7 separate regions of the Homo sapiens genome follow, and regions 1, 2, 4, 5, 6 and 7 are each linked to region 3. The links are contacts of gene promoters, found by promoter capture Hi-C in blood cells and fetal thymus (Javierre and others, 2016). All regions are on one chromosome and are shown on one strand. Each heading gives the region's core, a stretch centred on a gene start or on the middle of the fragment in contact. The rest is flanking DNA. Distances are from core to core; before and after follow the strand shown. Region 1 overlaps SYN3 (synapsin III). Region 2 overlaps SLC5A1 (solute carrier family 5 member 1). Region 3 holds the start of FBXO7 (F-box protein 7). Region 4 overlaps SYN3 (synapsin III). Region 5 overlaps SLC5A1 (solute carrier family 5 member 1). Region 6 overlaps SLC5A1 (solute carrier family 5 member 1). Region 7 overlaps SLC5A1 (solute carrier family 5 member 1).

Region 1 (4,277 bases), core at 9-2,508, 490 kb before region 3:
AGCACCTGCTCTGTACTTTGTCCTAATGACAGAGCCCTCCACACTCAAAGGGTTCTTTATCTGGTGGGAAGATAGACATTGAAGGCAGTGGCCAAAATGTGTTGCGACGAGGATCTCTCTATCGTAGAGATTTGTCTAACCTTGGGATGTTCTCAGGAAAGACCTCACAGAGAACCTGATGTGCAGCTGGGTTTGGGGACAAGAATTAGGTGAGGGTGAGTGGGCAGATGTGCACATTGGGCCTTCTAGCTAAAGAGCATGATTCAAGTCTCAGCTTGTCACGTACAGGGCAAATGACCAGGGTATGCCATGCATGAGAAGGGTTGGTGGGAGACGAAGCTGACAAAGAAGGTGGAGGGCAGTCTATTCAGGGTGGGCTATTAGTGCAAGGCATGCAACTAAGAATTGTGTCCTAGAGGCAGGATGTATGTATTGAACTTTTTAAGCCATGGAGTGCTGTGACCGTGATTTCATTTTAGAATGCACAGGCTGACAGTGGTCTTAGAAGATTCGCTGGATAGGAATGGTGGCTTGAGACTGGAGGCAGAAAAGCTCAGCTCTGGATTTGGTGCAAAAGTCATCTCATCCTTGAATATGATGCTTGGGTAGGAGGCACATGGAAGGGACTTCATAAGTGTTAAGTGAATGCATGTACATCCTCGCCACTGTGTTCCTTAACCACTTGAGCCATTCTCATACCTGTAATTCGTATTTGAAACTGGAGGAGAAGAGATGACCTATTTTTCTTAAGACTGAGAGGATGGAGTCAGACCCACATGATGTGTTTCAGCTGGCATTTCTTGAAAGCGAGCCATTGCCAACCTCCTCTTGTTCACCACCTTAGTCCAGCCACTTGGACTAAGCCGTTTCACACTGCACATGTCAACTTGCTCCCAATCTGCCTAATCCCCAGCCTTGTGATTCCTTCATCTGTTGATGATCTCCCTCCCCATGCGCTACTGCCCCTGGTTACACCACTTCTCCAGCGTGGCCTTCAGCTTTTGTGTGGCTACTCTACATTTTCTGCCAGCTCTGCTGTTGTCTGTACCATTTGGGGTCTGGCCCACTCCCTGATGAGAGGAGCCCCCACTGGGCTCACCCCAGCCCTGCCAGCAGCCTCTGCCCGGATGTGCTTACACAGTGGATTTGAGCCTTTGCATTTCAGTGGGAATCAAGGGTTATTAATTAACCTAGGGTGGAACCTATTATGAAACATCCCAGAAAACTGGAATGAACCAAAGGGACTTCTGAACTCACAGCAGGGAAAAATGCCTTTTAATTGACTTGGATGACTTCACTGCAAAAATCTGTCTGGCTGTTATGCTAAACTGGAAACTAATCTATTAGATTGTCTAAGGAATCTCCCAGCCCACTCTAAGCAGAGTCTCCTGAGGAGGGGAGTGAGCTGACATATCAACAGGACTTAGGCATTGAAATGACTTCCTTTGGATCATACACAGTCTGGGCGCATTTTCTAGTCCCTCAGGAAGGAGCTGGGAGGCTGATAGCAGAGAACGAGTTTATGTGCCCTACAATGTCTATCTTTAGTATCACATAGGATTTTAGTAGTTCTAAGGCACTATTTACTTTACAATAGAATTCAACCTAAACTGGACCCGTTTTGGTCCAGTCTTGGCCCCCTCATCTCAGGGAGTTTTAGAGGGTGACCTGAGAGAGTTTCCACTGGCGGTGCCTGAGGCAGATGGCAGCTGTACAGCCTGGGCTCTGAAGGAATTAATGATCATAGGCAGTATCTAATCACATGCTTACTAAGTGTCAGGCACACGCTAAGCATTTCATATGGATTAGCGTGTTTCATCCTCATCATGACTCTGATGAACAGGTACTATGAGTTCCCCCATTCTCCAGATGAGGAACCTGAGGCTTACCCAAGGCCACACAGCATACAAGTGGCAGAACTGGAATTCAGAGTCAGTTTAACTGAAGAATCTGTGTTTATGGTTCTTTTTATTTTATTTTATTATTTTTTGAGACAGGTTTCACTCTGTCACACAGGCTGGAGTGCAGTGGTGTAGTCATGGCTCACTGCAGCCTCAACCTCCTGGGCTCAAGCCATCCTCTCACCTCAGCCTCCTGGGTAGCCGCGATGACAGGTGCGCACCACAACACCTGGCTAATTTTTAAAATATTTTGTAGAGACAGGGTCTCACTGTATTGCCCAGACTGGTCTCAAACTCCTGTGCTCAAGTGGTCCCCACAGCTTGGCCTCCCAAAGTGCTGACATTACAGGTGTGAGCCACCATGCCCTGCCTGTTTATGGTTCTTAATCTTTATGCTGGCTCATCTGGGAAGGTGTATCCTGAAGCAGTAAAATCCAGGGAAGGCTTGGTCACTTTCCTCTCATGCATAAAGGGCTGACCTGTGCATTAGACTTGTTTTGGGGGTCTCAAGCTCTGCACACAAGGCCCTCCATGAGCTTGCCCCTGCCTGCCTTTCCTTGCTCATCTCCTCCCGTGCTCTACCTTAGACTTCGGTCTCACCAAACTGCTGTGGTTCCCCAGTGCCCACCCATGGTAATACCATCTTGGAGTCACATCTCCATGCCTTTGCTTATGCACGTCTCTCCTCCTGGGACATCCTTTCTTAGATTTTGCCATAGATTCTTCAACATTAGCTCCAACATGATGTCTGTGCTGCTTCCTCTGCCCTCCCCCTCCATCCAGGCAGGGTGAGGTGCCTCTTCCCTGTACTCCCCTAGCACCTCATACCTGTGTCTACATCACACTTCCCAGATGACTTTGAGATTACTAATTCACCTGCCCCTCGCTCCCTGTAGACTCTGGGCTCATTGGGAACAGGGACAGTATCTTTATTCATTCCACAAATATTCATTGACTGCCTATGTGCTGCGTGCTCAGGTTACAATGGTGATTAAAAACAGATGGAATCTGGCCGGGCGCGGTGGCCCGTGCCTGTAATCCCAGCACTTTGGGAGGCCAAGGCGGGCAGATCACAAGGTCAGGAGATCGAGACCACCTTGGCTAACACAGCGAAACCCCGTCTCTACTAAAAATACAAAAAATTAGCCGGGTGTGGTGGCGGGCGCCTGTAGTCCCAGCTACTCGGGAGGCTGAGGCAGGAGAATGGCGCGAACCCGGGAGGCGGAGCTTGCAGTGAGCCGAGATCGTGCCACTCACTTCAGCCTGGGCGAAAGAGCGAGACTCCATCATAAAACAACAACAACAACAACAACGAAAAAGCCAGATGGAATCTCTACCTGATGGAACTTAACATCTAATGGCAGGGGCCAGAAATTAATCATATTATCTATCTGTCTCTCTCTCTCTTACGCACACACACAAGCATGCACACACACACACACACACACACACACACACACGTACGCACCATAATTACAAACTGTTAGAAGCCGTGAAAGTAGGGTACACAGTGCTATGGTAGACTGTGGTGGGGAGGCTGGCAGGACACTTATTCGGTACATAATAGGTGCTCCAAGGACCCAGATACCTAATCTGTGTTCAATATATATTTCTCAAACTTATCCAGAGTGGGGAAAGATGAAAGAAGCTAAAGAGAAAAGCTTTAGGCTACTGCAAGAACCCAAAGAGCCTTTGGCATGGTAAACAACACAAACAAAGCATTAGCCCTGCAGGAATCATGCAGATAAATCATTGATATAGTACAGTGCAGGTAAAGCAAGATTTGACATTAACATTTACACAATGTGCAAGCCATCCTCTAAGCAGTTTATCTGTATACATTTAATTTTCATCACCACCCCACAGAGTACTGATGGAACTGAGACTCAGAGAGGTTAAGTGTCCTGCCCGAGGCGACACAGCTAGGAGATGGCAGAGCTGAGATGTGGACCCAGATGCTCCAGAGCCCATACCACTGACCCCTGCATTGACCACCTTTCTATCTCATCTGTTGAATGGGGACTGATCGAGGTGCAGTTTCTTGCTTGGGTCATGCTGCTGGTTACTGTAGAGTCAAACTACCATCTGCCTTTGTCTCCTCCTTGCCAAGTCTGACTTTAGACATCCTAAGGGGAAGAACTTGGCAATAATAAAAGGTCAGCACCAGACAGGAAATGGAGCTAAGTTCTGTCATGGGGCATCAAGGGTTGTACTTGTGGAGTTCTGAGTATATGGTCAAGAAGGAAAATAAACTATTAGTTCAGTGATGTGCTTTTCATTGCCCTCATGCGTTTAACTTTTCAACATATTTCGTCCTTCAGCAACTCCTGAGGTGTAAGGCTCATTATTATTCAGATGAGGAAATTGAGGCTTGGC
Region 2 (4,171 bases), core at 1,293-3,792, 380 kb after region 3:
AGGGATGGTTTAACATATGCAAGTCAATAAGTGTGACACATCACATAAACAGAATTAAAAACAAAAATCACATGATCATCTCAACAGACATAGAAAAAGCATTTGAAAAAATCCAGCATCCATTTATGATTAAAATACTCAGCAAAATTGGCATAAAAGCATACCTTAATGTAATAAAAGCCATCTATGACAGACCCACAGCCAATATAATACCAAAAGGGGAAAAGTTGAAAGCATTCCCTCTGAGAATTGGAACAAGACAAGGATGCCCACTCTCACCCACTTGTATTCAACATAGTACTGGAAGTCCTAGCCAGAGCAATCAGACAAAAGAAAGAAATGAATGGCATCCAAATCAGTAAAGGGGAAGTCAAACTGTCACTGGTTGCTGATGATACAATCATATACTTAGAAAACCCTAAAGACTCCTCCAAAATGCTTGTAGAACTGATAAATGAATTTGGCAAAGTTTCAGGACCCAAAATTAATGTACACAAATCAGTAGCTCTGCTACATCAACAGTGACCAAGCTGAGAATCAAATCAAGAACTCAACTCCTTGTACAATAGCTGCAAAAAAAAAAGAAAGAGAGAGAAGAGAAAAGAAAAGAAAAGAAAGGAAAAAAGACTTAGGAATATACCTAACCAAGGACGTGAAAGACCTCTACAAGGAAAACTACAAAACACTGCTGAAAGAAATCACAGATGACACAAACAAATGGAAACACATCCCATGCTCATGGATGGGTAGAATCAATATTGTGAAAATGACCATACTGCCAAAAGCAATCTACAAATTCAATGCAATTCACATCAAAATACCACCATCATTCTTCACAGAACTAGGAAAAACAATACTCACATTCATATGGAACCAAAAAAAGAGCCCACATAGCCAAAGCAAGACTAAGCAAAAAGAACAAATCTGGAGGCATCACATTACCTGACTTCAAACTATACTATAAGGCCAGAGCCACCAAAACAGCATGGTACTGATATAAAAATAGGCACAGAGACTAATGAAACAGAATGAGAGAACCCAGAAATAAACCCAAATACTTAGAGCCAACTAATCTTTGACAAACCAAACAAAAATATAAAGTGGGGAAAGGACACCCTATTCAACAAATAGTGCTGGGATAATTGGCAAGCCACATGCAGGAGAATAAAACTGGATACTCATCTCTCACCTTATACAAAAATCAACTTGAGATAATTCAAGGACTTAAATCTAAGACCTGAAACTATAAAAATTCTAGAAGATAGCATCAGAAAAACCCTCCTAGGCATTGGCTTAGGCAAAGAGTTCACGACCAAGAACCCAAAGGCAAATGCAACAAAAACAAAGATAAATAGGTGGGACTTAACTAAAGAGCTTCTGCACAGCAAAAGGAACAGTTAGCAGAGTAAACGGGCAACCCACACAGTGGCAGAAAATCTTCACAATCTATACTTCCAACAAAGGACTAATATCCAGAATCTACAAAAAATTTCAAACAAATTAACAAGGAAAAAATAATCACCTTACTCCAAGAATGACTGTAATTTAGAAATAAAAAAAATAGATATTGGTGTGGATGTGGTGAAAAGAACACTTTTACACTGTTGGTGGGAATGTAAACTAATACAACCACTATGGAAAACAGTATGGACATTCCTTAAAGAACTAAAAGTAGAACTACCATTTGATCCAGCAATCCCACTACTGGGTATCTACCCAGAGGAAAAGAAGTCGTTATACAAAAAAGATGTTTGCACACGCAGGTTTATAGCAGCACAATTCATAATTGCAAAAATATGGAACCAGACCAAATGCCCATCAATCAACAAGTGGATAAAGAAATTATGGTGTATATATACATATGATGGAATCCTACTCAGCCATAAAAAGGAACGAATTAATGGCATTCGCAGCAACTGGATGAAACTGGAGACTATTATTCTAAGTGAAGCAATTCAGGAATGGAAAACCAAACATCATATGTTCTCACTTATAAGTGGGAGCTAAGCTATGAGGTTGCAAAGGCATAAGAATGATACAGTGGATTTTGGGGACTCACGGGAAACGGGTGGGAGGGGGGCGAGGGATAAAAGATTACAAATTGGGTTCAGTGTATAATGCTCAAGTGATGGGTGTACCAAAATCTCACAAATCACCACTAAAGAGCTTACTCATGTAACCAAATACGACCTGTTTCCCAAACATGAATGGAAATAAAAAATTTAAAAATAATAAAATAAAATAATAAGTAAATAAAGTTAAATGCCACCAAATGGCACATATAACCAGCCACAGAAATTATTCCCATTCTACCCAGGCATCTGCCAACCTTCCCTAGCTTGAGGGGTAACACAGATGGAACCTCTCTGATCATTCAAGCTTTTGTGGCTTGGGGGAAGCTGCATTTACCTTCCGGCAATCATGAGCTCTTTCTCAGATGCTCTCTTGCGGACCTTGGCGTAGATGTCCATGGTGAAGAGGGTGCTGGCGCTGTTGAAGATGGAGGTCAGGGAGCTCATGAGGGAGGCCAGCATGACTGATAGCATCAGGCCTCGCAGTCCTGGAAGAGAAGGATTTTTGAGTGGCACATAACAGCACCTTCAGCTCTTTTGTACTTGAAAAATATATGAGGACTCAAGATTTGTTTGCCTTCTGAAACCATGCCATGTTATCCAATTTCTGTCTCCAAAAAGACTAGAAGCTTTAAGAAGTAGTCCTATGGCTTTAAATTTATTAGCCCATTATAAGCCCACAGCAGCCACAAAGAGCCAGAGACACAACATACTTGAGGTGAATACTTTGCAACTGGACGATGATGAAGGTGGTGGGGTGTGTGTGTGTGTGTGTGTGTGTGTGTGTGTGTGTGTGTGTGTTTGTGTATGTGTGTTTCCATCTGAGGGGATTTTTATAAGGTCTCTCACCTGAAATATTTATGATATAACAGAAAGAGATTTAAACTATTATTCAAAAGATGGGGCTCTCAAGAAAGTAAGCCATCCACAGACTGGGAGAAAATACGTGCAAATCATGTATCTGATAAGGGTCTAATATAAGAACATATAAAGAACTCCTAAAATTCAATAATAAAATGACAACCCAATTTAAAATGCCAAAGGATCTGAATAGACACTTCTCCAAAGCCATACAAATAGCCAATAATGACATGAAAAGATGCTTGACATCAGGGGAATTCAAATCAAAGCCATAGTGGGATAATAACTTTGTACCCACTAGGATAGCTATGATAATAAATTTTTAAAAAACAGAAATAACAAGTGTGAGTGGAGATATGGAGAAATGAGGACCTTCATATATTGCTGGCAGGAATGTAAAATGGTACAGCCACTGCAGAAAATAGTCTGGGTCAGTCAGTTTTTCAGATGGTTAAACATTCAGCTACCATATTACCCATCAATTCCATTCCTAGGTGGAATTTCATTTCTCTCTACCCAAGAGAAATGAAATTCCATTCCTAGGTGGAATTTCATTTCTCTCTACCCAAGAGAAATGAAAACATATGTCCACTCAAAAACTCATACATTAATGTTTGTAATATTATTACTTGTAATACCCAAAAAGGAGGAGCAATACAAATGTCCACCAAATGATAAGTGGATAAACAAAATGCATAAGCAATTGACAAATGGGTAAACATGTGATGGAATATTATTCATCAATAAAAAGGAATGACATACAAATACATGCTAGGACACATATGAACCTTGCAAACATTATGTTAAGTAAAAGAAGCAAGTCACAAAAAAACACGTATTATATGATTCTATTTATATGAAATATCCAGAATAGGCAAATCTAGGAATACAGAAAGTATGTTAGTGGTTGCCAGGGACTGGGAGGTTGGGGTGAAATAGGGAGAGACTGCTCATTTCATTAGCAGGTATAGGATTTCTTTATGGCATGACACAAATTTTCTAAAATTTATTTCAGTGATGCTTGCACAACTCTGTGAATATACTTAAAAAACCACTGAATTGTACATTTTAAATGAGGGAATTGTAGGATAGGTGAATTTAAGCTCAATTAAGTTTTTTTGTTTTTTTTTTTTTTTTTGAAAGACAAGGCTGTATTTCTAACTCTGATCCTAAGCAAGTTACGTCAAGCTCTAGGCCTCATTTCTTGATGTGTTAAACAGGGATACCTTCCCAAATCA
Region 3 (4,325 bases), core at 418-2,917:
AAAGAGAAACCAACGTGCCCTTTTGGGCAGTCATATTGAGTTTCACGTCCTTTCAAGACTGCCTAATTTAAAAATAATAAAATATATATATACTTGGTAATACCTTTAAAAAATAAGTTTGAAGATTTATTCAATCTTCTACTCGTAACCTACTGGTAACGATGCCAGTATGTAAAACACACAGGTTTAACAACAAGAAATAACAGTAGGCATGTCACTTACTATAATGTTTAAAAGGAGTTATGTCAGTATCTTATTTAGGGTTTTTTTTTTAATCAGGAAGAAAACAGGCTTACTTTCAATCTAATAATGTCTTAACCAGGAAAATGAAAGGGCGAGAAGTTCAGAATAACGGCCTCATTTTACCCAATTCCCTAAAAATAAGGTGAAAACGTAGGAAGGTTTGCTTTTGTTTTGAAGAATTCACCTAAAAATCCCCAGGGAACATCTTTTTCATTTTTCCTTAGCACACTCAAGTTTCAAATTCACTAGCTCAGTATTTGAAGAGGACCACTCTTACCTTGCCGCTTTACTCCCAAATTATTGTCCCCAAAAAGTATCTTTTAGGGAAACAAAGCAGCTTCACCTGCAGTCCCACAAACCAATAACAGAATATGATCCTTTCTCAACTTTACTGCCCCCAAACTGCAAGCTCTCAAGATCAACGTTTGCCTCAGTTTTAGCAAAAAAGCAACATTTCACCCAAGAAAATGAAATGGTCTGAAACACGCCTACACGCTGTCCTTTCTAAAACTTTTCGGCGGCGAAGTCCAAGCGCTCACCGCGGTGCTCGGCGCATGAACACAACAGAATCTAAAATTGTTGCCGCTTCACAGCAGCGATACAAGCTACCGGTGGCCTCGGATTGAGGGCAGATTTTTAACTTCTAGCAATTTCCAAACTTTTTCATTGAAATACTCCAACAGCTGAAGAAATTAACTCGGACCCCTCACAGTCCAGAAAGGTTTAACCCAAGCCAAGCTCATCATTTCCAACTTGAAATCTAACCAGTTGTGGAAATTGTGCGTTCCCTCCTCTCCCTGGTTCCGTTTACTGCAAAACCAGAAGCCATGACTCACCGAGGAGGGGACCAGAGCCCCCGGGAGGCCGGGCCATGTTCTCCAGGAGCCGGACCCCAGCCGACCACCCGCGCTTCCCGTCGCCTGCACCCTCCGGCTCCGCGACGCCCGGAAGAGCCCGGGCCTCCCGTGAAGGCCCCCCCGGCGTCCCCGCACTTGGCCTATCGCCCGGCCACGCCCGCGCCTGCAGCCCACAGATGACGCCAACCCGCCCTGCACCCACCCCAAGCACTCCCCACTCCCCGCGGGCCGCCCAGCCCCGGCCCCAGCGTACCTGTACCCCCAGGTGCACAGCAGGGACTGCCTCAGGTGCGAGCGCAAATGCCCCAGCGTCGGCTCCGTCTCGGGCACCTCCAGCGGCCAGGTCCGCTTCAGAAGCCGCACCCGCAGCCTCATGACGGCGGCAGGCGGCCCGAGGGGCCTGGACCCGGAAGCGGCGACGGGGACGGCGGCGGGGCCGAGCAGCTCCCGCCCCAAACGGCGACGACCCCGGACTGGCGACTACCGGAGCTGAGGGGTAGCTGAGGCGAAACGGGGAAAGAGCCCCGCCACAGTGGCCGCCCTGCCACTCGGTCTCTGGAATAGAGCGCCCGCCCCTCTCCTGAGGGCGCCTCCTGGAGCCGACCCCGAGAGCTGGAGGCGGGCAGGCGGCCTAAAGGAACCGGGCCTCTCGGGGTCGGCCGATCGATGACTCCGCGCGCAACGGCGCTGCCTGAGAGCGCGGGCACAGTGCGCAGGCGCCGAGATGCGGCCGCTCGCTGGCATCCCAGATTTTCCGCGGCGGTGGCTGGGACTCCCAGTACTTACTCCCTGTGTGCGTGGAACAACGGTAGCGCTGATAGGGATGCTGCAGACAGACAATACAGTCGCCACTCCCCAGGACCAAGTGTCACCCCCTTTCTTCCGTGGCCCTCAGTTCCAGCGGCATCTGCTCTGAGAAGCCTTAGGTTAATCCTTAGGTTGGCCGGGCGCGGTGGCTCACGCCTGTAATCCCAGCACTTTGGGAGGCCGAGGCGGGTGGATCGTTTGAGCCCAGGAGTTCGAGACCAGCCTGGGCAACATGGTGAAACCCCCCCCCCCATCTCTACAAAAAATACAAAAAATTAGGTGTGGTGGCGCCTGCCTGTAGTCCCAGCTAGTTGGGTGGCTGAGGCGGGAGGGTCGATTGAGCCCGGAGGTCGAGGCCTCAATGAGCTGTGATCGCACCACTGCACCTCAGCCTGGTTCCACAGAACGAGACCCTGTCTCAAAAAAAAAGTAGAACTATTTGTAGCCAGTAATCTATGTCCGACAGTTTATTAGAACTCTGTGGCTGCATAACAATCACCCCAAAGTTTAACGCAATAAACATTTGTTGTCCCACAGGTTTTAGAGGTAAAGGGATTTGGGGATGCGTGGCTGGGTGGTTCTGTCTCCAGGTCTCCCATGAGATTACAAACTGTAGGCCAGGGCAGCAGTTATTGACTAGGGCTGGAGGATCGGCCTCCAGGATGGCACAGTCATGACTGTTGGCCAGAGACCTGTTTTCACCACGTGAACCTCCCCATAGGGCTGTTTGAGTGTCCCCATGACATGGCAGCTGGCTTCCTTCAGAGCAGGTGATCCCAGAGAGACCAAGGTATAAGCCACAATGTCTTTTATGACCTAGCTCCAGAGGTCACATACGGCTTTTGTCATATTTACAAACCAACCCTATGTGTGAGAGGATCCAGCCAAAGGTATGAATGCCAACAGACAGGGATCGCTGCGGGCCATCCTGGAGGCTGGCTACCATAGAGGGTCTAACTAATGATAACTTAGATGAGAGAGAGTATCAAGTTTCGTCCTTGTGTGATAACCATAGTCCAAATCCTTAGAGTCAAATAAAGTTTCTCCCAATAGGTGGCAGCACTTGTCCACATCCTGCCCTTGATTCTGCAAATAAATATGTATTGATTGCCTACTTTGTGACAGATACCCCACATGCTGGAGACTCAAGAGACCAAAAAGACATGTTTCTGCCCATGCAAAGTTTACAGTTGAGTGAATCAGCTCTTTCAGTAGAGTGTAAAAAGTCTCTGCTTTATGATAGACATAAATACAGACCTGAGGAATGGGATTGTTAGAAATGTTTGTTTTTTGATGTTGTAAAGAAATAGCACTTGAATATAAATTTAATTTTTTTAGCAAGGCCATTTTTATTTTTTGTAGAAAGGGTATACTCGCCAGCAGTTTTGTCACGAGAGTACACCGAACAAAGGAGACAGGGTCATATATAACCTGATGTGTCCACTTTACTGCTGTGTCTGGTTTTTTGTTTGTTTTTGTTTTTTTTTGTTGTTGTTGTTGTTTGAGATGGAGTCGCGCTCTGTCGCCCAGGCTGGAGTGCAGTGGCGTGATCTCGGCTCACTGCAAGCTCCGCCTCCTGGGTTCACGCCATTCTCCTGCCTCAGCCTCCCGAGTAGCTGGGACTACAGGCACCCGCCACCACACCTGGCTAATTTTTGTATTATTATTATTATTATTATTATTATTATTATTATTATTATTTTATTATTATTTTAGTGGAGATGGGGTTTCACCGTGTTAGCCAGGATGGTCTCGATCTCCTGACCTGATCCGCCCGCCTCGGCCTCCCAAAGTGCTGGGATTACAGGCGTGAGCCACCGCGCCTGGCCTGTGTCTGGTTTTTATTGGCTGGAATGGGACTTTATATTTTGTATTTGTCTTGATTGGCTAGTAATTTAGAACTTTTTAAAAGAGGCAAAGGCAGAGGAGAACAAAGCAAGGAGGAAGTAACTTGTGGAATGTTGAGAAAGGTCAACACCCCTTTAAGGAAGAGGAATAGGCTATGACTTAATGTTTGTTTGAACTAGTATAAATATGTTAGGGCAAATATTTAGGCTAAATTGTGGGAGTTAAGATTGTAAAGTACATTGATTTTTTTATTATGGCTAGCAGATATTTAAGAATGTTAGCATGGGTGTTTGAATACATTTTGGTTTTAAGAGGGTACATAGAGGAGGTTTGCCATGCCCGTAGGATTCTTTAGTAGTGAGCAGTGAGGAATGGTGCCAGGACCAGGATGACTCTGTGTGACCAGAGTGATGGACAGCATAGGTACATCCCAGATAAAGAAGAGCCTTGGGCTAAGCACAGGGTTTGGGACATATTCTAGAATGTATGGGAAGCCGCTAGACAGTTTTTAGCAGGGAGTCTTTACTATCAGGGTTCTTAATTTTCAGCAGTAGAAGCTGACTCTGGCTG
Region 4 (4,175 bases), core at 1,497-3,996, 430 kb before region 3:
AATGACTTAATTCACTTAAAATGCTTACAGGAATCTGGGACACATGATGAGCACACAATAGATATAAATATATCTATTAATTAATGGTGGGAATGTAAATTAGTTCAACCATTGTGGAAGACAGTGTGGTGATTCCTCAATGATCTAGAACCAGAAATACCATTTGACCCAGCAATCCCACTATTGAGTATACACCCAAAGGATTATAAATCATTCTATTATAAAGACACATGCACATGTATGTTTATTGCAGCACTATTCATAATAGCAAAGACTTTGAACCAACCCACATGCCCATCAATGATAGACTGGATAAAGAAAATGTGGCACATATACACCATGGAATACTATGCAGCCATAAAAGAGGATGAGTTCATGTCCTTTGTAGGGACATGGATGAAGCTGGAAGCCATCATTCTCAGCAAACTAACACAGGAAGAGAAAACCAAACACCTCATGTTCTCATTCATTAGTGGGAGTTGAACAATGGGAACACATGGACACAGGGAGGGGAACATCACACACCCGGGCCTGTCGGGGGGTGGGGGGCAAGGGGAGGGTGAGCATTAGGACAAATGCCTAATGCATGCAGGACTTAAAACCTAGGTGATGGGTTGATAGGTGCAGCAAACCACTATGGCACATGTGTACCTATGTAACAAACCTGCACATTCTGCACATGTATCCCAGAACTTAAAGTTAAAAAAAGATATTAATATATTTACTATTTTTCCCCTGGGGTTAAGCATCACTGATGGGCAAAATGGCAGGAATGAATAGGGCATCTAAGGAAGAACTAAGTAGAATCATTTCAAATAAGTGGAATTTTCCATTTTTAAATCCTGGTGAGCATTAGAACTATCTGATGAGCTTGGCTAAATGCAGGTTCCTGTTCCCCACTCCAGGGGATCTTGATTCATTGTGTTTGAGGCCCAAGAATCCCCTTTTTCAACATGCTAAGTGAGCTGTGTTGCAGAGGGTCCCAGGAGCACACACTGAGAAATGCCAGATCGTTGTTTGCAGGGAAAGACGTTTCTCTCTTCCAGGTCGTGCGCCTTCCTGAGAACAACCAGACCAGCTACTTCCTGCCGCTTTTCTTCCCTCTGTGTCCTTGGAGGGGATCTGCTTCCAGGTGGGGTCAGTTAGTTTCAGCTGCTCCTAGGTCTTTCCCATGGGCCTCTAGCTGTGCAAACCTTGGAATTTTTGTACCAGAGTTTCCCAGTTAGAATATCCAGGGCTCTGCCAATGATACCAAACCTGCTGCACCTCTCTGTGAATGTCCGACCTCTCTGCCATGGGATGCCCTGCAAGCTGAGGTTTCCTCAGGATACCTGACTGTGATTCATGAATGAAAGGGCACGAACCCTTAGAGGGGGTGCCAGTATCTCTTCTTCAAGACCCGGGGAAGTTAGTGCAGCTTGAATCTCAGGCCAGAGCTGCCCATATAGGAGGGCAGAGGCAGAGTGCAGGGAATACAGGCTCTTGCAGCCACACAGACCTGCTTCAAACCCTGTGGCTCTGGTACTTATCAGCTATGTGGGAGCCTTGGATAAGTGACTTACTGACCATGTGCCTCCTAAGCTCCACTTCTTTAACCAGATAGAATCATGCCCTCCTGGCAATGCGCCTGTGAGAATCAAATGCAGTGTGAAAGCAAAACACCCAGCCAGTGTCTGGCGCACAGCAAGTGCTCAGAGCGTAACTGTGTCTGCAGTCAGGAATTTGAGGCAGGGTGGAGGGTGGCAACCAAGGTAGGTCTCTTTCCCTCTGTCCCCCTTTGTCTTCCTGACCATGCAGACTCTTTGCCTTATGCTCTGGGACATTTATTGGTTCCCTAAGTGTGGTTTTTGTCCTCCCACCTAGATTGCAGGCTCAGTGAAGTTGCAAGTTAGAGTAATACTGTGTACCACTTTGCCACTCCCCTAAAGTTTATTGAATAGAAACTTTGGAGGAAACAACTGAAGGTGGGCAATTCCAGTTTCTCTATTATTTTCCCCAAAATACCTTATTTGTATCCTCCTTCATTTCAATGACTAAGTGAAATAATGTGGGACAGTGTCTGACTCATACAAAATATTGCTTTTTTGTGAGAGTATAGCAAATTCGAGCTCGCAAGAGACTCTTTAGTTCACTTAATTCCACCCTGTGGTTTTATAGATGAGAAAACTGAAGCTCAGAGAGGGGAAGGGGCTTGCAATTGGGGGTTCTCATCTGAACCACAGAACACAAAAGCACATAATGATGACTATTTTCACAGTTCTCTGAGGGACGGTATATAATTTGTACCATTATCCATGGACAGGAGGGAAGTTAATTCATTGCATGCAAAGAATGCCTTACAACACTGACACTTTATTGTCTACCAGGACAATTGCGAAGGGCTGAGCAAATGATACCAGAGCTGTGGCTAGCCCAGACATCTTACCCCACCTGAAAGCTTCCCACAGTGGACAAGAGTCCACAGTCCAAGTGTTGCGTGGAGTGGAAGGAAGAAACTGTCCCATTACTTGTTCAAATGCTTTATAAAATCCCAAGACTCTATATGCATAAGGAGATTTTTCTGCCTGTTTGGAAGATGGTCGAAAAAACTGTCACATGTACAAGCAAAATGCCTCTAAAACCCCAATTCTGCTTTTACTGTGTATATTAGGGCAGGCTATCTGTTATGAAAAAAAAAAACAAAAAACTTGGTGGTCTAACACAAAAGAAGCCTAGGTCTCACTCAATCAAGAGTAGAGTGTGGCATTCAGCAGACGACCTTCTTCAGAGTTCCTCAGGAATCCAACCAGGCGCCTTCCATCTTGTGACTCCACCATCGCTAGGTACTCAGAGCCCTCTGCAGACTCTCTGCATCTGCTAGCCAAGGGAGGAGGAGAGGATAGACTGCTTGGAAAGATTTTTATGGGCCAGGCCTCGCAGAGCCATATTGCAGTATCACTAGCATTCCATTCATCCCATTGGCCAGAACTCTGTCACATGCCCACACTCAACCACAAGGCCTGCTGGGAAATGTAGTCCAGATGGGGATACCCAGGTGGAAAAGGAAACAAGCTTGGCCAAATATCTCTGCCATAATTTATAACTTTAAACAAGTCTCATTTATTACCCACCTTTAAAGCAAGGAAATGAGGCCTGCTTACATCATAGACTTGTGCCAAGGATTAAGAGAAATAATGTCTGTTGTGGTGCTCTGAGGCAGTAAATACAGGTGAACTACTATTATTATTAATTTCACCACCTCCTGAAATGTATGTACTACTATGTACTGGGCCTGGCCCGGGGCCCAATACATAGTAGGTGCAAAACAAACCATTGTGCAGTTGATGGTCTTCCCACCAGCCTCCTGAATGCATGCTTTGCTCCAGCTAGCTGGCATTTGGTTCACACACACATCTTTTTGACAAGTCACCCATTGTCGTCAGTCATTGCCGATTGCCCCTGCCAGCTATGAGCTGGAACACAGGAAGGGTTTTATCTGAAGCCTGAGACATCCTGAAAGGATGAAGCCTCCCTTCTTGGGTACCTGGAAGGCTGCCCATTGCACCTCACATTCTTTACAGCCTGGAGGCCGATGGTAACCATGAGCTCTGTGAGGGGCTACAGCAGCCAGCTATGGAGGCTGCTGCTGATGTGCGAAGCGCATGGCTTGTGGCCTGGAGAGCTCAATTCTTTTCCCAAGCCCCCTCCCCCTACCCACAAGCTCTAGTGTTGCTCAGAAGGAGGAGGAAAAGGCCCCAGAACAGTTGTCAAAACTTGATCGTCAGTGGTGTGCGCAGTTCCCTGTACTATATATAAGTAGGTGTTTTGAATGTTTAAGACATAGAACTTGTTAGATGGGTATTTTTTAAAAAAACGAATGTGTAAAACAAAGATCACCTCACAGGTCATAACAGCTTGCACTTACATAATGTTTACTATGTGCCAGGCATGTTAATTAATTTAGTCTTCAAAACAACCCTATGAGATGAAGAGATAATTATAGCAATTTTAGGGTAGAGAAAATTGGGGCACCAAACATTCACTGGTCTTACTCAAGGTCAGTCACAGGAGTGTACCTTTAGTCAGAGCATGGACTCTATAGCTCACCAGAGTCCCCACCACTCCCTAATGTATCCCAGACATAGGGGCTGAGCATCAATTATCATTTCTCTGTACTCGAAAAACAGTAGAGAGCG
Region 5 (3,999 bases), core at 622-3,121, 420 kb after region 3:
TTATTGATAATTTTACGTATATTTTGTAAGAATGTGAGGGACATAAACACACACATGCACATGGATATATCAGCACCTACATGGCATCTGGCACATAGTAGGTATCAACATGCAGTTGTGGAATGAGAGAATACTACTACATAAATAGATGAATGATTCAATTCACAGCTTAAGGAGGAGAAGCTGGAGATGAGAAACAATTACTATTTTATTTTTTTTTAGATGGAATCTTGCTCTGTTGCCCAAGCTGGAGTGCAATGGTGCGATCTCAGCTCACTGCAACCTCCATCTCCTGGGTTCAAGCAATTCTCCTACCTCAGCCTCCCAAGTAGCTGGGATTACAGGCACCTGCCACCACGCCCAGCTAATTTTGGTATTTTTAGTAGAGACGGGGTTTCATCATGTTGGCCAGCTGGTCTTGAACTCCCAATCCAGGCGATCTGCCTGCCTCGGCCTGCCAAAGTGCTGGGATTACTGGTGTGAGCCACCGCACCCGGCTGAGAAACAATTATAATGATGATAATCATGATAGGCATCCCTTGGACAGCATTAACTATATAGTGTCCTAAGAGATTTACATGTATTAACTAATTTAATCCCAGATATATTTCTAATATGAATAATACAACGAATTCATTTTAACTGATAGTTTCACCACCTTTCTGCCTCTTCCGACTTCTACCAACCAGAAATACGGATTACAAAAAATGGTATTTTTTTTCTGTCTACAGAAGCACTAATCTGTTAGAAAATTCTGGGAAGGCAGCCAGTGAGAAAGGAGAAGCCAGATGCTTAGGTACTAACTAGATGGCAGGGACTTGGTTACACATCAATCAATTGATGCCTAGAAACACCAAGAATACATGGAGTGGTGAGTGGTTGTGTATTAATCAGAGAAGCTACTTAGAGGAGAGACTAAGCTATGAAGAATGGGAGGGAAGTGATTCCACCAAAAAAAGAGAAGGATGAAGGGGAGAGAAAGAGGAAAAGAGAAGAGAGGGGAAAGAGAAGGAAGAAAGGGAAGGAGGGAAAGAATGAGGAGAAGGAGGAGAATAAAAAGGAGGAAGAGAAGGTGGAGGAATAGGAAAAGGAGAATGAGTAATAGGAAGAGAAGAAAAGGGAGGAAAAATAAGAAGGAGGAAGAAGAAAGAGCAAAGCAGACACTGCTGTGATAACCCAAAAGCTCCCACCCAAAATATACCAATGGGGAACTACCAAGTTTTGCAAAACCTCGACTCAGACCGAGAAAACAAATGGCCTGAGAGTGAGGAAACATAGCCACACCAAACTTTACCAAGGAGTCCAGTGTGGGCTGAAATTGGGAACTCTGATTAAGGCTTCCTTTTCCAGTTTTACTCCCATGAGCCTAAACAACAACAATTTTTCTCTATGCATAAAAACAGAAATTTGGAGCACTGCTGGAGGCAGGCTTTGACTTAGACCCAGCACCCTTCTAACCTCCTGAATTCTTACCACTGTCTATACTGTGTGGCCCCTGCACCAGAGGCCAGAATATAGACTCAGGTCTCAGGTGACACCACTAAGGGGGACCAGCATGAGGTTCTGGGGACATGTCCCTCTTCTCCCTCATTTCTCTTTAATTCAGCCCATATTTGTCAAGTGCCTTCTTGCAGTGCAAGGCCTTGGTGTTGTGAGGCCAAAAAAAAAAAATTAAGAAAAGCGTAGGCCTAGCTCTCATCACAGGGCACTGGGATAAGTAAGAGCACATGCAGGTAAAAAGCAAGTAGAGCAGGGAGAGAGGGCCAAATGGACCTGGGCCAGAAGAGGTAGGAATTGTTTCCCCCAGGCTTATGAAGAGTCAAGTACTTATCTTTCCTTCTCACTTCTTCCTGGAGTGCATCCCTGCCTCTCTCATGTCCAGTTGCCTGGTTCCCTCTCTTCCTCTCCAATTCATGAGCTCCCCACCCATGTGTTGGGACTACCAGGTTTTTCTAAGACACCCTTTGGCCCCTCTGGTGACATCATAAGTGGCTGGACTTTGACCTGATCATTAGGTTTTAGAAACATAACGATAAAATCAGATATATTTTACCCAAGAGGACTTGAAAAGTTTGAGAACCTGTCCTCTTTCTTCAGGGAAAATTTTCATCAGGGTCTCTGGTCGGCCCCAAATGAAATAATTTCTTGGTTTTCAGACCAATCTTTAGGCCACACCAATTGGCCTCATAAATTTCCATCTCAAAAGACAAGGAGAAAGAGACCTGAATAACCAGAAGATCAGAGGAAGTCTTAGCTCTGTCATTATCTTGTGTAAACGTGGGCAACCCATGGGGTTAATCATCATCTTCACTCTACTTACCTCACTAGATCATTGAGGATTCAATCAGATAAGTGATATGACAGTCCTTCAATAGGTTTCAGTTGCAAAGAAGAACAAGAGCTAAACCTGAGGGTTTAATGTGTGCCAGGCTCTGTTCTGAGACTGTCTGTGTGTGTCCTCAAAACAAGAAATCTGGCCCTCCACCTATTTTTGCAAATAAAGTCAGCCACATCCATTCATTCATCCATTTTCCTTGGATGTTTTTGTGTTACAACAGCAGAGTGGAATAGTTGTGACAGAGATTGCATAGCAGCAAAGCTAGAAATATTTAGAATCTGGCCCTTTACAGAAAAAGTTTGTCAACTATTTTGTTGTTGTTTTGTTGTTGTTGGGTTTGGGATTTTTGTTGTTGTTGTTTTTGTTTTTTGGGGTTTTTGTTGTTGTTGTTGTTGTTTGAAACAGGGTCTCACTCTGTCCCCCAGGCTGGAAGGCAGTAATGCAATCATGGCTCACTGTAGCCTTCACCTTCCCAGATCAAGCGATCCTCCCACCTCAGCCTTCCAAGTAGCTAGGACTACAGGTGCACACCACCACGCCCAGCTAGTTTTTAATTTTTCTGTAGAGATAAGATCTTGCTATGTTGCCCAGGCTGGTCTTGAACTCCTGAGCTCAAGCAATTCTCTCACTTCTGCCTCCCAAAATGCCTGGATTACAGGTGTGAGTCACTGTGCCTAGCTGAAACTTAGAATTTTAGTCCTGGAAGAGCCTTTGAGATTCCTTATCTGACCAGCTCCACATTATAGAGGAGACTCTCAGAGACTCAGAGATTAATGAATTGCCCAATGTCACAAAGCTGGAACAAGCCAAATCCTGTGGCTCCTTGTGCAGTTCCCACTCCCTGCCCTTTGGAATGCTTCTTTCTGAATCTAAGGGAGCTGATCCCATGGAGCTGGCTCTGCCAGTAGTCCTGGTAGGTGTGATCAAACTCTCTTCCAAAACAAGAGTCTCTCACTGGGCTGTGTACCTGGGGCCTCACTTCTCTGTGTAATTTCTGCTGCCAATATCCAAAGAGTGGGGAATTCCCCTTCGAAGCTCAGCCCCTGAGCTTCACAGCTTTCCTACCATCACATCTCCGCACAGACAGCTGTGAGTGAAACGTGGCAAACCCTGGTGCCACATAAAAAGGGAATCCTGGGCCACCAACCAGCCCACAGTTACGTAAGGTACAGTTTCATGGTTTCATGTTACTCAGATGAGTTGCCTTGGCTTGCCTCAAGCATGACTCAGGCTTCCGGGGACCTCCCAGCCCAGATCCCTATGTAAGCTGACTCTTCTTGTAATTTCAATCCTGGAGTCCTTGCTCCTTCCCTCTGATTGTCCCTTGCTTCTATCCTCAAGCCAACACACAAACTGTTTTTCTCTCTGGGCCTCATTCAGTTTTCAGGAACAGAGTCTGTTTCCAGAGTTTCTGAATCTTCACCTGTTTCAGGTCATAACCACTCCTTTCAAAGCCCCCTAAACCCCAGGAATGCCCAAAACCAGTCTCTCCTCTATCCAGTATGTTTTCAGACTTTATGAGCTCTGATTTTCTCCTACTTTTCTTGTGGGTGACAACCCAAACCCTCTCTGTCTCAGGTATATCAACCCAGGTCAATACAAGTTGTTCCTTCTTCCAGAAGCTTCTCTGCTGCCCACTCTTCCTGTGGCACAAAGCGACT
Region 6 (4,092 bases), core at 599-3,098, 400 kb after region 3:
AATGGGCTTGGCTGGGCTCCAGTAAAACTTTACTTACAAAAATAGATCGTGTGTTGGATTTAGCCCAGGGGTGTTGTTCCCATCACGTTGAAAATTTGGCTGAACGATGTCCATGGAATTCATGGGGAATAAAAATACAGACCCCCGTTGGAAAGCATCTGCAAGTAACTGAGTCTCTGATTGGGAGCTTGGGCATGTTGCTTCGCCTTGGCTCTGATGTTTTGAGATCCAGTGATTTTATATGTGTGTGTTTGCTGTCCATTCTGGTCGTAACCAAGATGTATTTGAGCATTCGATAAATCCTGCCTAGCCTCGCAGTTTCAGATGGTGAAGCCCCATTACTCAAATTTCTCTTTCCACTTGTGAAAGTGAGTGGCCCTGGGAATGAGCATTCAAATCTTAAGCAAAAGCAAAAGCTCTTCTTTTCACCCAAGGATCCAAAATGGACAGCAGAATTGCTGTAAACATTTACTGTAGCTGTGATCTGTGATAACAGCCCTAGGAAACACAAATGGGGACATGAACATTCAGTCATCACATGTAAGTCATAAAATCTGAGGCTTTATCTCCAGGGATTGTGCACATTTGCATAAGATGCACATGCCGGGAAATTTTACAGAATGGAATGCTTCTCAGAGCTTGATAAGGCAGGTGCTCGAGGGAGCCAATAAAATTCAGGAGCTCATGGAAGGACAATCAGTTCTGAGTCTCAGAGCCCAAAAATACGTGACCAAAAGATGGTAGCCATAGCCAACGCTCCACATCACAGCTGCCAATGGCCTGGGCCACATCTGGGCTCTGCACCTACAATGCCCTGTACTTTCTCCTCTCTCCCATTAATTACAACCCCACTGGATCCCTACATTCTCCCCAAGCCTTCGTGGCAGGTCCCTGGTTGTTCGCTCTCTGGACAGGAATCTCACACTAACCCTCCTCTCTTCTCACCCATCACAAACCATCCGTGCCCTTCCACACACACACACAATTGGTGAATCTTGGTTTGTGTGGAATATAAATGCCTTATCACCGTATTTTGTTAATGAACAGTTATTTTCTTTTGTCCATGAGCCCTGCATTCCTGTGTGTCTTGAAGTGAGCTTCTAGCAGGTACAGTTGATATCGGTGTAATTCTTTTTAAAATTTCAATGCTCTGTGACCCATGTTGAACCTAAAACCAGCCGAATTTACGAAGACAAAGCCTTGCCTGTCTGCATCCCTCCCTACCCTACCCCCTGCCCAGATGTCCCTCCTTCAGATCCTTCATATACCCAGTGTGCAGCTGATGTTCTCTCCCCATAGTCCTCTCAAATCCTACTCTTGGCAACTCATTTATATTGTGAGGTTCATTTAACTGGCTCTCTTCATTTTTCCCAGGGTCTTGAATTCTAACCTACTCTGTACTGGAAGAATGAAAGACTTAGAAGGTAGGGGGCATATAATGTCAAAAGGTTTAGATTCAGTGTCAGGAAATCTGCTTCTCATCCCAGTTCTGCTCCTGTTTAACCCCTCATAGTCCCTTCCCCTGTCTGGACCTCAGTTTCTCCATCTGTAAAATGAAAGCGCAGAACATAAGACCACATGATCTATCCCATCCCCTCATTCTATGCCTTCATCCCACCCAAGCACAGGGCAGAACACTGAGAACAGACTTTGGCACTGGAGAGACCCTGCTCCCAGTTCTGGCTTTGCCACGTACTAGCTGTGTAATTTGGGGAAATTACCTAACTTCTCTGAGACTCAGTTTTCTCTCCCATAAAATGGAAAATAAAATAAAAATCCCAGCCAGATGTGGTGGCTCACACCTGTAATCCCAGCACTTTGGGAGGTCAAGGCAAGAGGATCACTTGAGGCGAGGAGTTCAAGACCAGCCTGGGTAACATAGTGAGACCCTATCTCTAAAAAAAAAAAAAAAAAAAAAAAAGTAAAAAATAGCTGGGCATGGTGGCACATGGATGTAGTCTCAGCTACTCAGGAGGCTGAGGCAGGATGATCACTTGAGCCCACGAGTTTAAGGTTGCATTGACCCATGATCATGCCACTACACTCCAGCCTGGGCAACAGAGCAATACCCTATCTCAGTAAACAAACAAATAAATAATAGAAATCCCTACCCATGCTGTACTCTTCTGAGAACTGGAGAGGGTGTAAGTAAAACCCCTGTTGGAGACTAAATGACGAGACCAGCACTAAGTAGAGGGCAGCTATCAAACTTCTTATGTATTTGTCAAGGGATCCCTGGTCTTGGGCAATGGATGGAGTAAGTATAATGTTGGTCATGGCCTCCACTAATATCATGATTCAGCCTCCTTCACTTTCTCCTCCTTTCCTTCAGGGTTAGTTTTTAATTATAAGATAAAAGCCTGGGCTTTTCAGTCTTATTTGGTTAGAGACCAGTGTATAGAGTCTGGACTGGGAAATGCTGGGAAGGCTGGAGAAATCAGGCTTCAGCTTCCTGAGGGAGGGCAGTGCATCTGTCCAAGAAGAGAAAGGGAACGTGAGCAGGAGGGTGACGAGGGTAAGGAGCCTCAAAAATCACACAGAGAGGGAGCAGCACACAACACATACAATTCAAAAGCCAAATTTAGAAAAAGCGGGCTCCTCGGGGATGGGCTCCATCCAGATCTGAGCTGAAAGAGGCTGTCCCTCAGCTCCCTGGGGGCTCCCAAGTCCAAGAAGGTTTAATCAGTAACTTGAAAAATAGGTGAGGTGATAGAGAAGGCAGGGAGAGAGGTTGGGCACCTAATTTATTTATATGACCACCCCTGCCACCCCTGCACCAGCTCTGAGGACAAAGAGTGCTCTTACCATGGCAACTGCAGTCCACAGACTTTCACCTGCTTGAACTGTGGACTTGGAGGACACTTGCCTGGGAGAAGGGGAGGCCCAGCACCCTTCTCTACGTGCACAGTAGACAGGTACCACCCTCCTGCTCATTGCAGTGTGACCTCCTCACCCTCCTGCTCACATTCCCTTTTCTCTTCTTAGACAGACACACTGCCCTTTCTCAGGAAGCCAAAGCCCGATTTCTCTAGCCCTCCCAGCATTTTCCAGTCCAGGCTTTGCACACTGGTCTCTAATCAAATAAAATGGGAAAGCCCAGGCCTTTCATCTTATAACTAAAAACCAACCCGGGGGCCGGGCGCAGTGGCTCACACCTGTAATCCCAGCACTTTGGGAGGCCGAAGCGGGCGGATCATCTGAGGTCAGGAGTTCGAGACCAGCTTGGCCAACATGGTAAAACCCCGTCTCTACTAAAAATATACAAAAATTAGCCAGGCATGGTGGCGTGTGGCTGTAATCCCAGCTACTCAGGAGGCTGAGGCAGGAGAATCACTTGAACCCGGGAGGTGGAGGTTGCAGTGAGCCAAGATCGCGCCACAGTACTCCAGCCTGGGCAACGAGAGTGAAACTACATCTAAAAAAACAAAACAAACAAACAAAAAAAACACCAACCCTGAAGCAGAGGAGGAGAAAGTAAAGGAGGCTGAATCATGACATTAGTGGAGAAAGCACAAAGGCATGGGTCGAGGGCAGAAGCAGTGTGAGTCAGGAAGCTACACAAGGAGGCAGCACTATTCCTAGGTGTTGGCCCCAACTCCAAGACAAAACCTTAACAGCATTATCGGCAAGAGCCTGTTTTCACCAAGTTCAGTGAAAACTTACGTGCAAGACCATTCAGTGGGAAAACAATCATTTCTTCAAAAAATGGTACTGGGAGAACTGGATATCCACATGCGAAAGAATGAAGTTGGGCATGGTGGCACATGGCCATACCATATACATAAATTAACTCACAATGGATCAAAGCCCTAAATATAAGCACTAAAACTATGAAACTCTAAGGAGAAAACAAGGGGGTACATTTTCATGACCTTGGATTTGGCAGTGGATTCTTAGAAATGACACCAAAAGCATAAGCAACAAGAGATAAAATAGACAAATTGAACTTCACCAAGATTTAAAACCTTTGTGCATCAGAGGACATTATCAAGAAAGTGAAAAAACAACCTACAGGATGGGAAAAAAATTTTTGCAAGTCATATATCTGATAAGGGTCTAACATCCAGAATATATGAAGAATTTTTACAACTG
Region 7 (3,927 bases), core at 1,089-3,588, 360 kb after region 3:
AAGTTTATTATACTCTCAGATCCCAGAGAGGGGATAGTCATATGTCACACAGGGACATAGGGAAAGCACTGGTGTCATTAGGAGGCAGAAAGGAGTAAAGGAATGGGCCAGCACCTTAATTGGAGTTTCCTTGGGAAAGGCAGAACAGGGCAGAGTAAATGGTTTAGGATCGACTAGTTTGAACAATTCCAATGGGCTTTGGGCTATTGAATTGGTCTCTAGTTGCCTGGTGCCTGGCCCTAGGATTATTCAGTGCAGAGGAAATACTGGCTTAGTGTGTGGAAGTTGGATTTGGGGTGATAGACTTGGGATTGGTTGGTTTGTATATGAAAGACATGCTCCCAGGCAAGCTCTTTACTACCTGTAAGATAGAAAAGCAGACCTTGCTATCTGTAAGGTAGAAAAGCAGAAGCTGCTTTGACCTCCCTGGGAAGAGCAGTCTTTCCCTGAGTCTGCAAGATCCCCCAAATACCAGAGCATCAAGAATACAGAAAATAATAAACATATAGTTCATTGGCCTTGTGATAAATTGATACCAACTAGACAAATAAAGAATCTTAAGAAAACACAGAACAGGATCTAATCAGTTTGACAAAGGTTAGGGTAGGTGATCTCGGTTCCAAGTGGTAGCACCTAACACTTCTAGCTGACAGATGTGTATTTTTTGTTGAACCATTTTCTTAAGAGGAAATTCTTTTTATTTAAATTTAATTAATTCTTTTAATTACACCTGTGAAATCCCAATTATGTTGTCATATAATCCCACTGAAAAAATCATAATGTTAGTATTGACTGGTTTCAGGGTAGCTTAGAAAGGAGCTGAGAGTGGTTCCTGTGTATAAACATGGTTCAAAAGGTAAAGGGATGGCTTGTTCTCATGGAAGGAAGGAAATCCACAGAGCACTATTTGTAGTGCCTTCTCAGTCTCCTGAAGCGAGGCAGAGGAGAGGGAAAAGTGGAGAATTTCACTTGGCTGGCGTTCCCTAGAGGACTGGATCTGACATGAAGCTTGTGTTATGTTTTGAGTTTTGAGAGGCTAAAGGGAAAGGAAGAAAAGCCACTGGATGGGTGGACAGTGGAAAATGTCTAGACTGTCCTGGATTCGGTTTCTGGTTTTGCCAGTGATTTGCTGTGTATATTTTGGCAAATTATTTAGTCTCAACTGTGTATTTTGTTTTTTTGAAAAATGAGGACCTTGGTGCTTGTAGCATCTACCTACCTCCTGTCGTTGTGATGAGGACACTTTGAAAACGGGATGGGAGCTACATATGCAAAAGATGCCATACAGATGCTATATTAACCTGCATTATAGTCCCACAAATTAAAATGTATTCCTTTGATAAAAATAAAAACATTAAAACCCCATAACATCCTGATTCCCTGTTCTCCAGAGATTCTGGACAAATACTAAATATATCTATGGTGAGCTTAGTTGGCACAAGATATGGGTCAGGAAGCAGGAGGCCAGGATAGTTGATAATTGGATCTAGCAACTTGAACAATTTTTAAAATATAGGTAAGTTTAGAGATTATTTCAACTGCAGAGCCACTAGTAAACATGAGGTGAGTAACTCTGCCTGTACAAAGCCCCGTTAGAATAGACTGAGCTACTTAGGGTGAGCAAATGATAAATTATGCTACAATAATTTCAGGGGCACTATTCATTTCCCCAAATTGAAGATGGTATTCTAGGCCGGGCGCAGTGGCTCACTCCTGTAATCCCAGCACTTTGGGAGGCTGAGGCGGGTGGATCATGACTTCAGGAGATTGAGACCATCCTGGCTAACACGGTGAAACTCCGTCTCTACTAAAAATATGAAAAATTAGCCAGGCGTGGTGGCACATGCCTGTAATCCCAGCTACTTGGGAGGCTGAGGCAGAAGAATCGCTTGAACCCGGGAGGCGGAGGTTGCAGTGAGCGGAGATCAGGTCACTGTACTCCAGCCTGGGCAACAGAGCAAGACTTAGTCTCAAAAAAAAAAAAAAAAAAAAAAGAAGATGGTATTCTCTATGGGGTTGAATGACTGCCTATCTGTCCTCAATTTATAGAACTGAAAAATCATGCCTTATCAGGCAGAAAAAACTTCTTTAAATATAGATGCCTATTTCAAAAGGAATCTTTCAAAATGCAAAGCCTGGCCTCTGTCCCTACAGAGTGAAGTTGGTCCTGGGGCCTTTGACCTACCTGAGAGCACTACTTTGCTTGTGTGTAGCTGTGCCCGGCATTGCTGTTCCCTCAGTGACATTCCTTCTTTGGAACTCACTGGAACGCACTCTTACCTAGTGCTGAAGTCACCATCTTCTAAAAGAGGTGCTGCAGCTTGTGTTTTCTTGTCCTTCTTCACAAAAGTGAACCTCGAGAGAAAAGCATAAGTGAGCTTGCCTGGATGAAAGGGGTTTCTTAACATCCTTCCTATCCTGTCCAAAGAAAATCTCACCTAACCTCCAAATTGTAATTTGATGGATGAAGTTGTTTCAGTGAGGTGGCATTGTCTTGGTAGTTTGGTGGGGATGGGATTAGGGAGGTGTGGATGAGGTCAGTGGGGCCGGTGTTGTGTGACTGGCTCCAAGGGACTCAGGTAAGTACAATTCAGCCCCAGAGCCCCATGTTGCATCCTTAACCCAGCCAGCTTTTGAAGTCCTGAGAGCCACTCAGTGAAAGAACAGGCAATTTAATACCATGTATCCCATGCTTGGAAAACTGGTAGCAAAAACCCATCTGATAAAGGGACCTTCTTCACACAAGAGTGCTGGCAGCTCACGCACATGCAGTTCAGAACCAGACCAAGGGCTGCTTAGAGTAGTGATTCTCCAGCTATAGCTTGCATCAGAACCCCTGGAGGGCTTGTTGAAACACAGATTTTTGGGATGCACCCCCTCCCCTGACATTTCTGATTTTGTAGGTCTGGAATAGGGCCTGAGAACGTGCGTTTCTAACAAGTTCCCAGATGATTTTGCGGCTGCTGGTCTGAAGATCACATTTTGAAAACCACTATTTAGAGTTAACTTCTAAAGGGGCTTCATTTCCTCACCAACACTGGAAGAATGGAGAAACCTTTTCCCCAGTTCCTCCTTTGAGATTTGTAGAGCTGTGTTAGGACCGAAAGCCTTTTCTGAAATCAAAGGTGTGTAGGTATGGCTGAGGTACATTACAGCACCCAGGGAAAGAAAACTCTGACCCCATTGACTTTTAGGGCCCATCTGCTTAATTCTGGCCCCTCCTCTACGTGTCCAGTGCCTGTCACTTTTTTTGGAAATTATTTTTATTTTTTAAATTCACAAATAATAATTATATATACTCATGGCATACAACATATTTTTATATATGTACATATTGTGAAATGACTAAATTAAGGTAATTAACATCTATTACTGCACATATTTTTTTGTGGTAGAACACTCACACTACTCTCAGCAATTTTCAAGTATATGTTATATTGCTATTAACTATAATTGATACATTGTACAATTGATTTTCTGAACTTATTCCACCTAACTAAACCTTTGTATCATTTGACCAACATCTCCCCAGTCCCTCCCTCCCCCAGCCCTTGATAACCATCATTCTACTCTCTGCTTCTGAGTTTGACTTTTTAAGATTCTACATATCAGTGAGATCATGTGGTATTTGTCTTTCTGGGGCAAGGCCTGATATTTTACAAGCTTGACTTTTGTGTTTGGTACTCATTAAATAGTTTATATGCACAACTCCCCACCCACACTGGTTCTCAAAGTCAGTCTCACAGGTGTAATATTTTTTCAGGCAGTAGGGTGAGGGGGAAAGCAGTAATGTTTATTGGGCATTTTCTACGGACCGGGCCTTTTAAGCAGTATCAATTGACCTCACCTAATCTTTACAACAGCTCTGTGAAGTCTGCATTATGCTTGGAGGAACCTGAGGTTCAGAGAGTTTTAGGGACTCAGCCA

Evidence for each region. The method cuts DNA at HindIII sites, captures the fragments that hold promoters and counts their contacts. A CHiCAGO score of 5 or more calls a contact.
Region 1: a fragment that was not itself captured here is called in contact with the fragment with the promoter of FBXO7 in region 3 in 1 of 17 cell types (M1 macrophages); the score reaches 5.8 in M1 macrophages.
Region 2: a fragment that was not itself captured here is called in contact with the fragment with the promoter of FBXO7 in region 3 in 5 of 17 cell types (M0 macrophages, M1 macrophages, total CD4 T cells and 2 more); the score reaches 8.6 in M0 macrophages.
Region 4: a contact is called between a fragment that was not itself captured here and the fragment with the promoter of FBXO7 in region 3, in 1 of 17 cell types (erythroblasts). The highest score is 5.2, in erythroblasts.
Region 5: a fragment that was not itself captured here is called in contact with the fragment with the promoter of FBXO7 in region 3 in 2 of 17 cell types (M0 macrophages and M1 macrophages); the score reaches 6.9 in M0 macrophages.
Region 6: a contact is called between a fragment that was not itself captured here and the fragment with the promoter of FBXO7 in region 3, in 5 of 17 cell types (total CD4 T cells, M0 macrophages, M2 macrophages and 2 more). The highest score is 7.0, in total CD4 T cells.
Region 7: a fragment that was not itself captured here is called in contact with the fragment with the promoter of FBXO7 in region 3 in 8 of 17 cell types (M1 macrophages, naive CD4 T cells, M2 macrophages and 5 more); the score reaches 8.5 in M1 macrophages.

The regions. Positions count from the first base shown.
Region 1 is chr22:32,964,628-32,968,904 of GRCh38, reverse strand. The region is part of intron 3 of SYN3 (synapsin III); the gene reads left to right. Among named protein-coding and RNA genes, the nearest start is that of SYN3, 92 kb to the left of the region's middle. The HindIII fragment of the contact is 4,613 bases long and covers 1-3,564 here.
Region 2 is chr22:32,090,001-32,094,171 of GRCh38, reverse strand. SLC5A1 (solute carrier family 5 member 1) reads right to left here. Exons shown (of 15, transcript NM_000343.4): 11 at 2,410-2,560. Among named protein-coding and RNA genes, the nearest start is that of SLC5A1, 49 kb to the right of the region's middle. The HindIII fragment of the contact is 322 bases long and covers 2,382-2,703 here.
Region 3 is chr22:32,472,153-32,476,477 of GRCh38, reverse strand. FBXO7 (F-box protein 7) reads right to left here and starts at 1,667. Exons shown (of 9, transcript NM_012179.4): 1 at 1,354-1,667. The coding sequence starts at 1,475. RefSeq lists enhancers at 1,151-1,320, 906-1,406, 1,575-1,744, 1,407-1,907, 2,633-2,692 and silencers at 1,077-1,386, 1,397-1,586. The HindIII fragment of the contact is 4,456 bases long and covers 1-4,325 here.
Region 4 is chr22:32,903,033-32,907,207 of GRCh38, reverse strand. All of the region lies in intron 4 of SYN3 (synapsin III), which reads left to right. Among named protein-coding and RNA genes, the nearest start is that of TIMP3, 100 kb to the right of the region's middle. The HindIII fragment of the contact is 614 bases long and covers 2,440-3,053 here.
Region 5 is chr22:32,050,393-32,054,391 of GRCh38, reverse strand. All of the region lies in intron 2 of SLC5A1 (solute carrier family 5 member 1), which reads right to left. Among named protein-coding and RNA genes, the nearest start is that of SLC5A1, 9.1 kb to the right of the region's middle. The HindIII fragment of the contact is 4,183 bases long and covers 1-3,962 here.
Region 6 is chr22:32,072,900-32,076,991 of GRCh38, reverse strand. All of the region lies in intron 5 of SLC5A1 (solute carrier family 5 member 1), which reads right to left. Among named protein-coding and RNA genes, the nearest start is that of SLC5A1, 32 kb to the right of the region's middle. The HindIII fragment of the contact is 8,214 bases long and covers 1-4,092 here.
Region 7 is chr22:32,112,348-32,116,274 of GRCh38, reverse strand. It overlaps SLC5A1 (solute carrier family 5 member 1), which reads right to left. Exons shown (of 15, transcript NM_000343.4): 15 at 3,246-3,927. All of the region lies in intron 2 of LOC105373000 (a long non-coding RNA gene), which reads left to right. Among named protein-coding and RNA genes, the nearest start is that of C22orf42, 45 kb to the left of the region's middle. The HindIII fragment of the contact is 2,655 bases long and covers 1,011-3,665 here.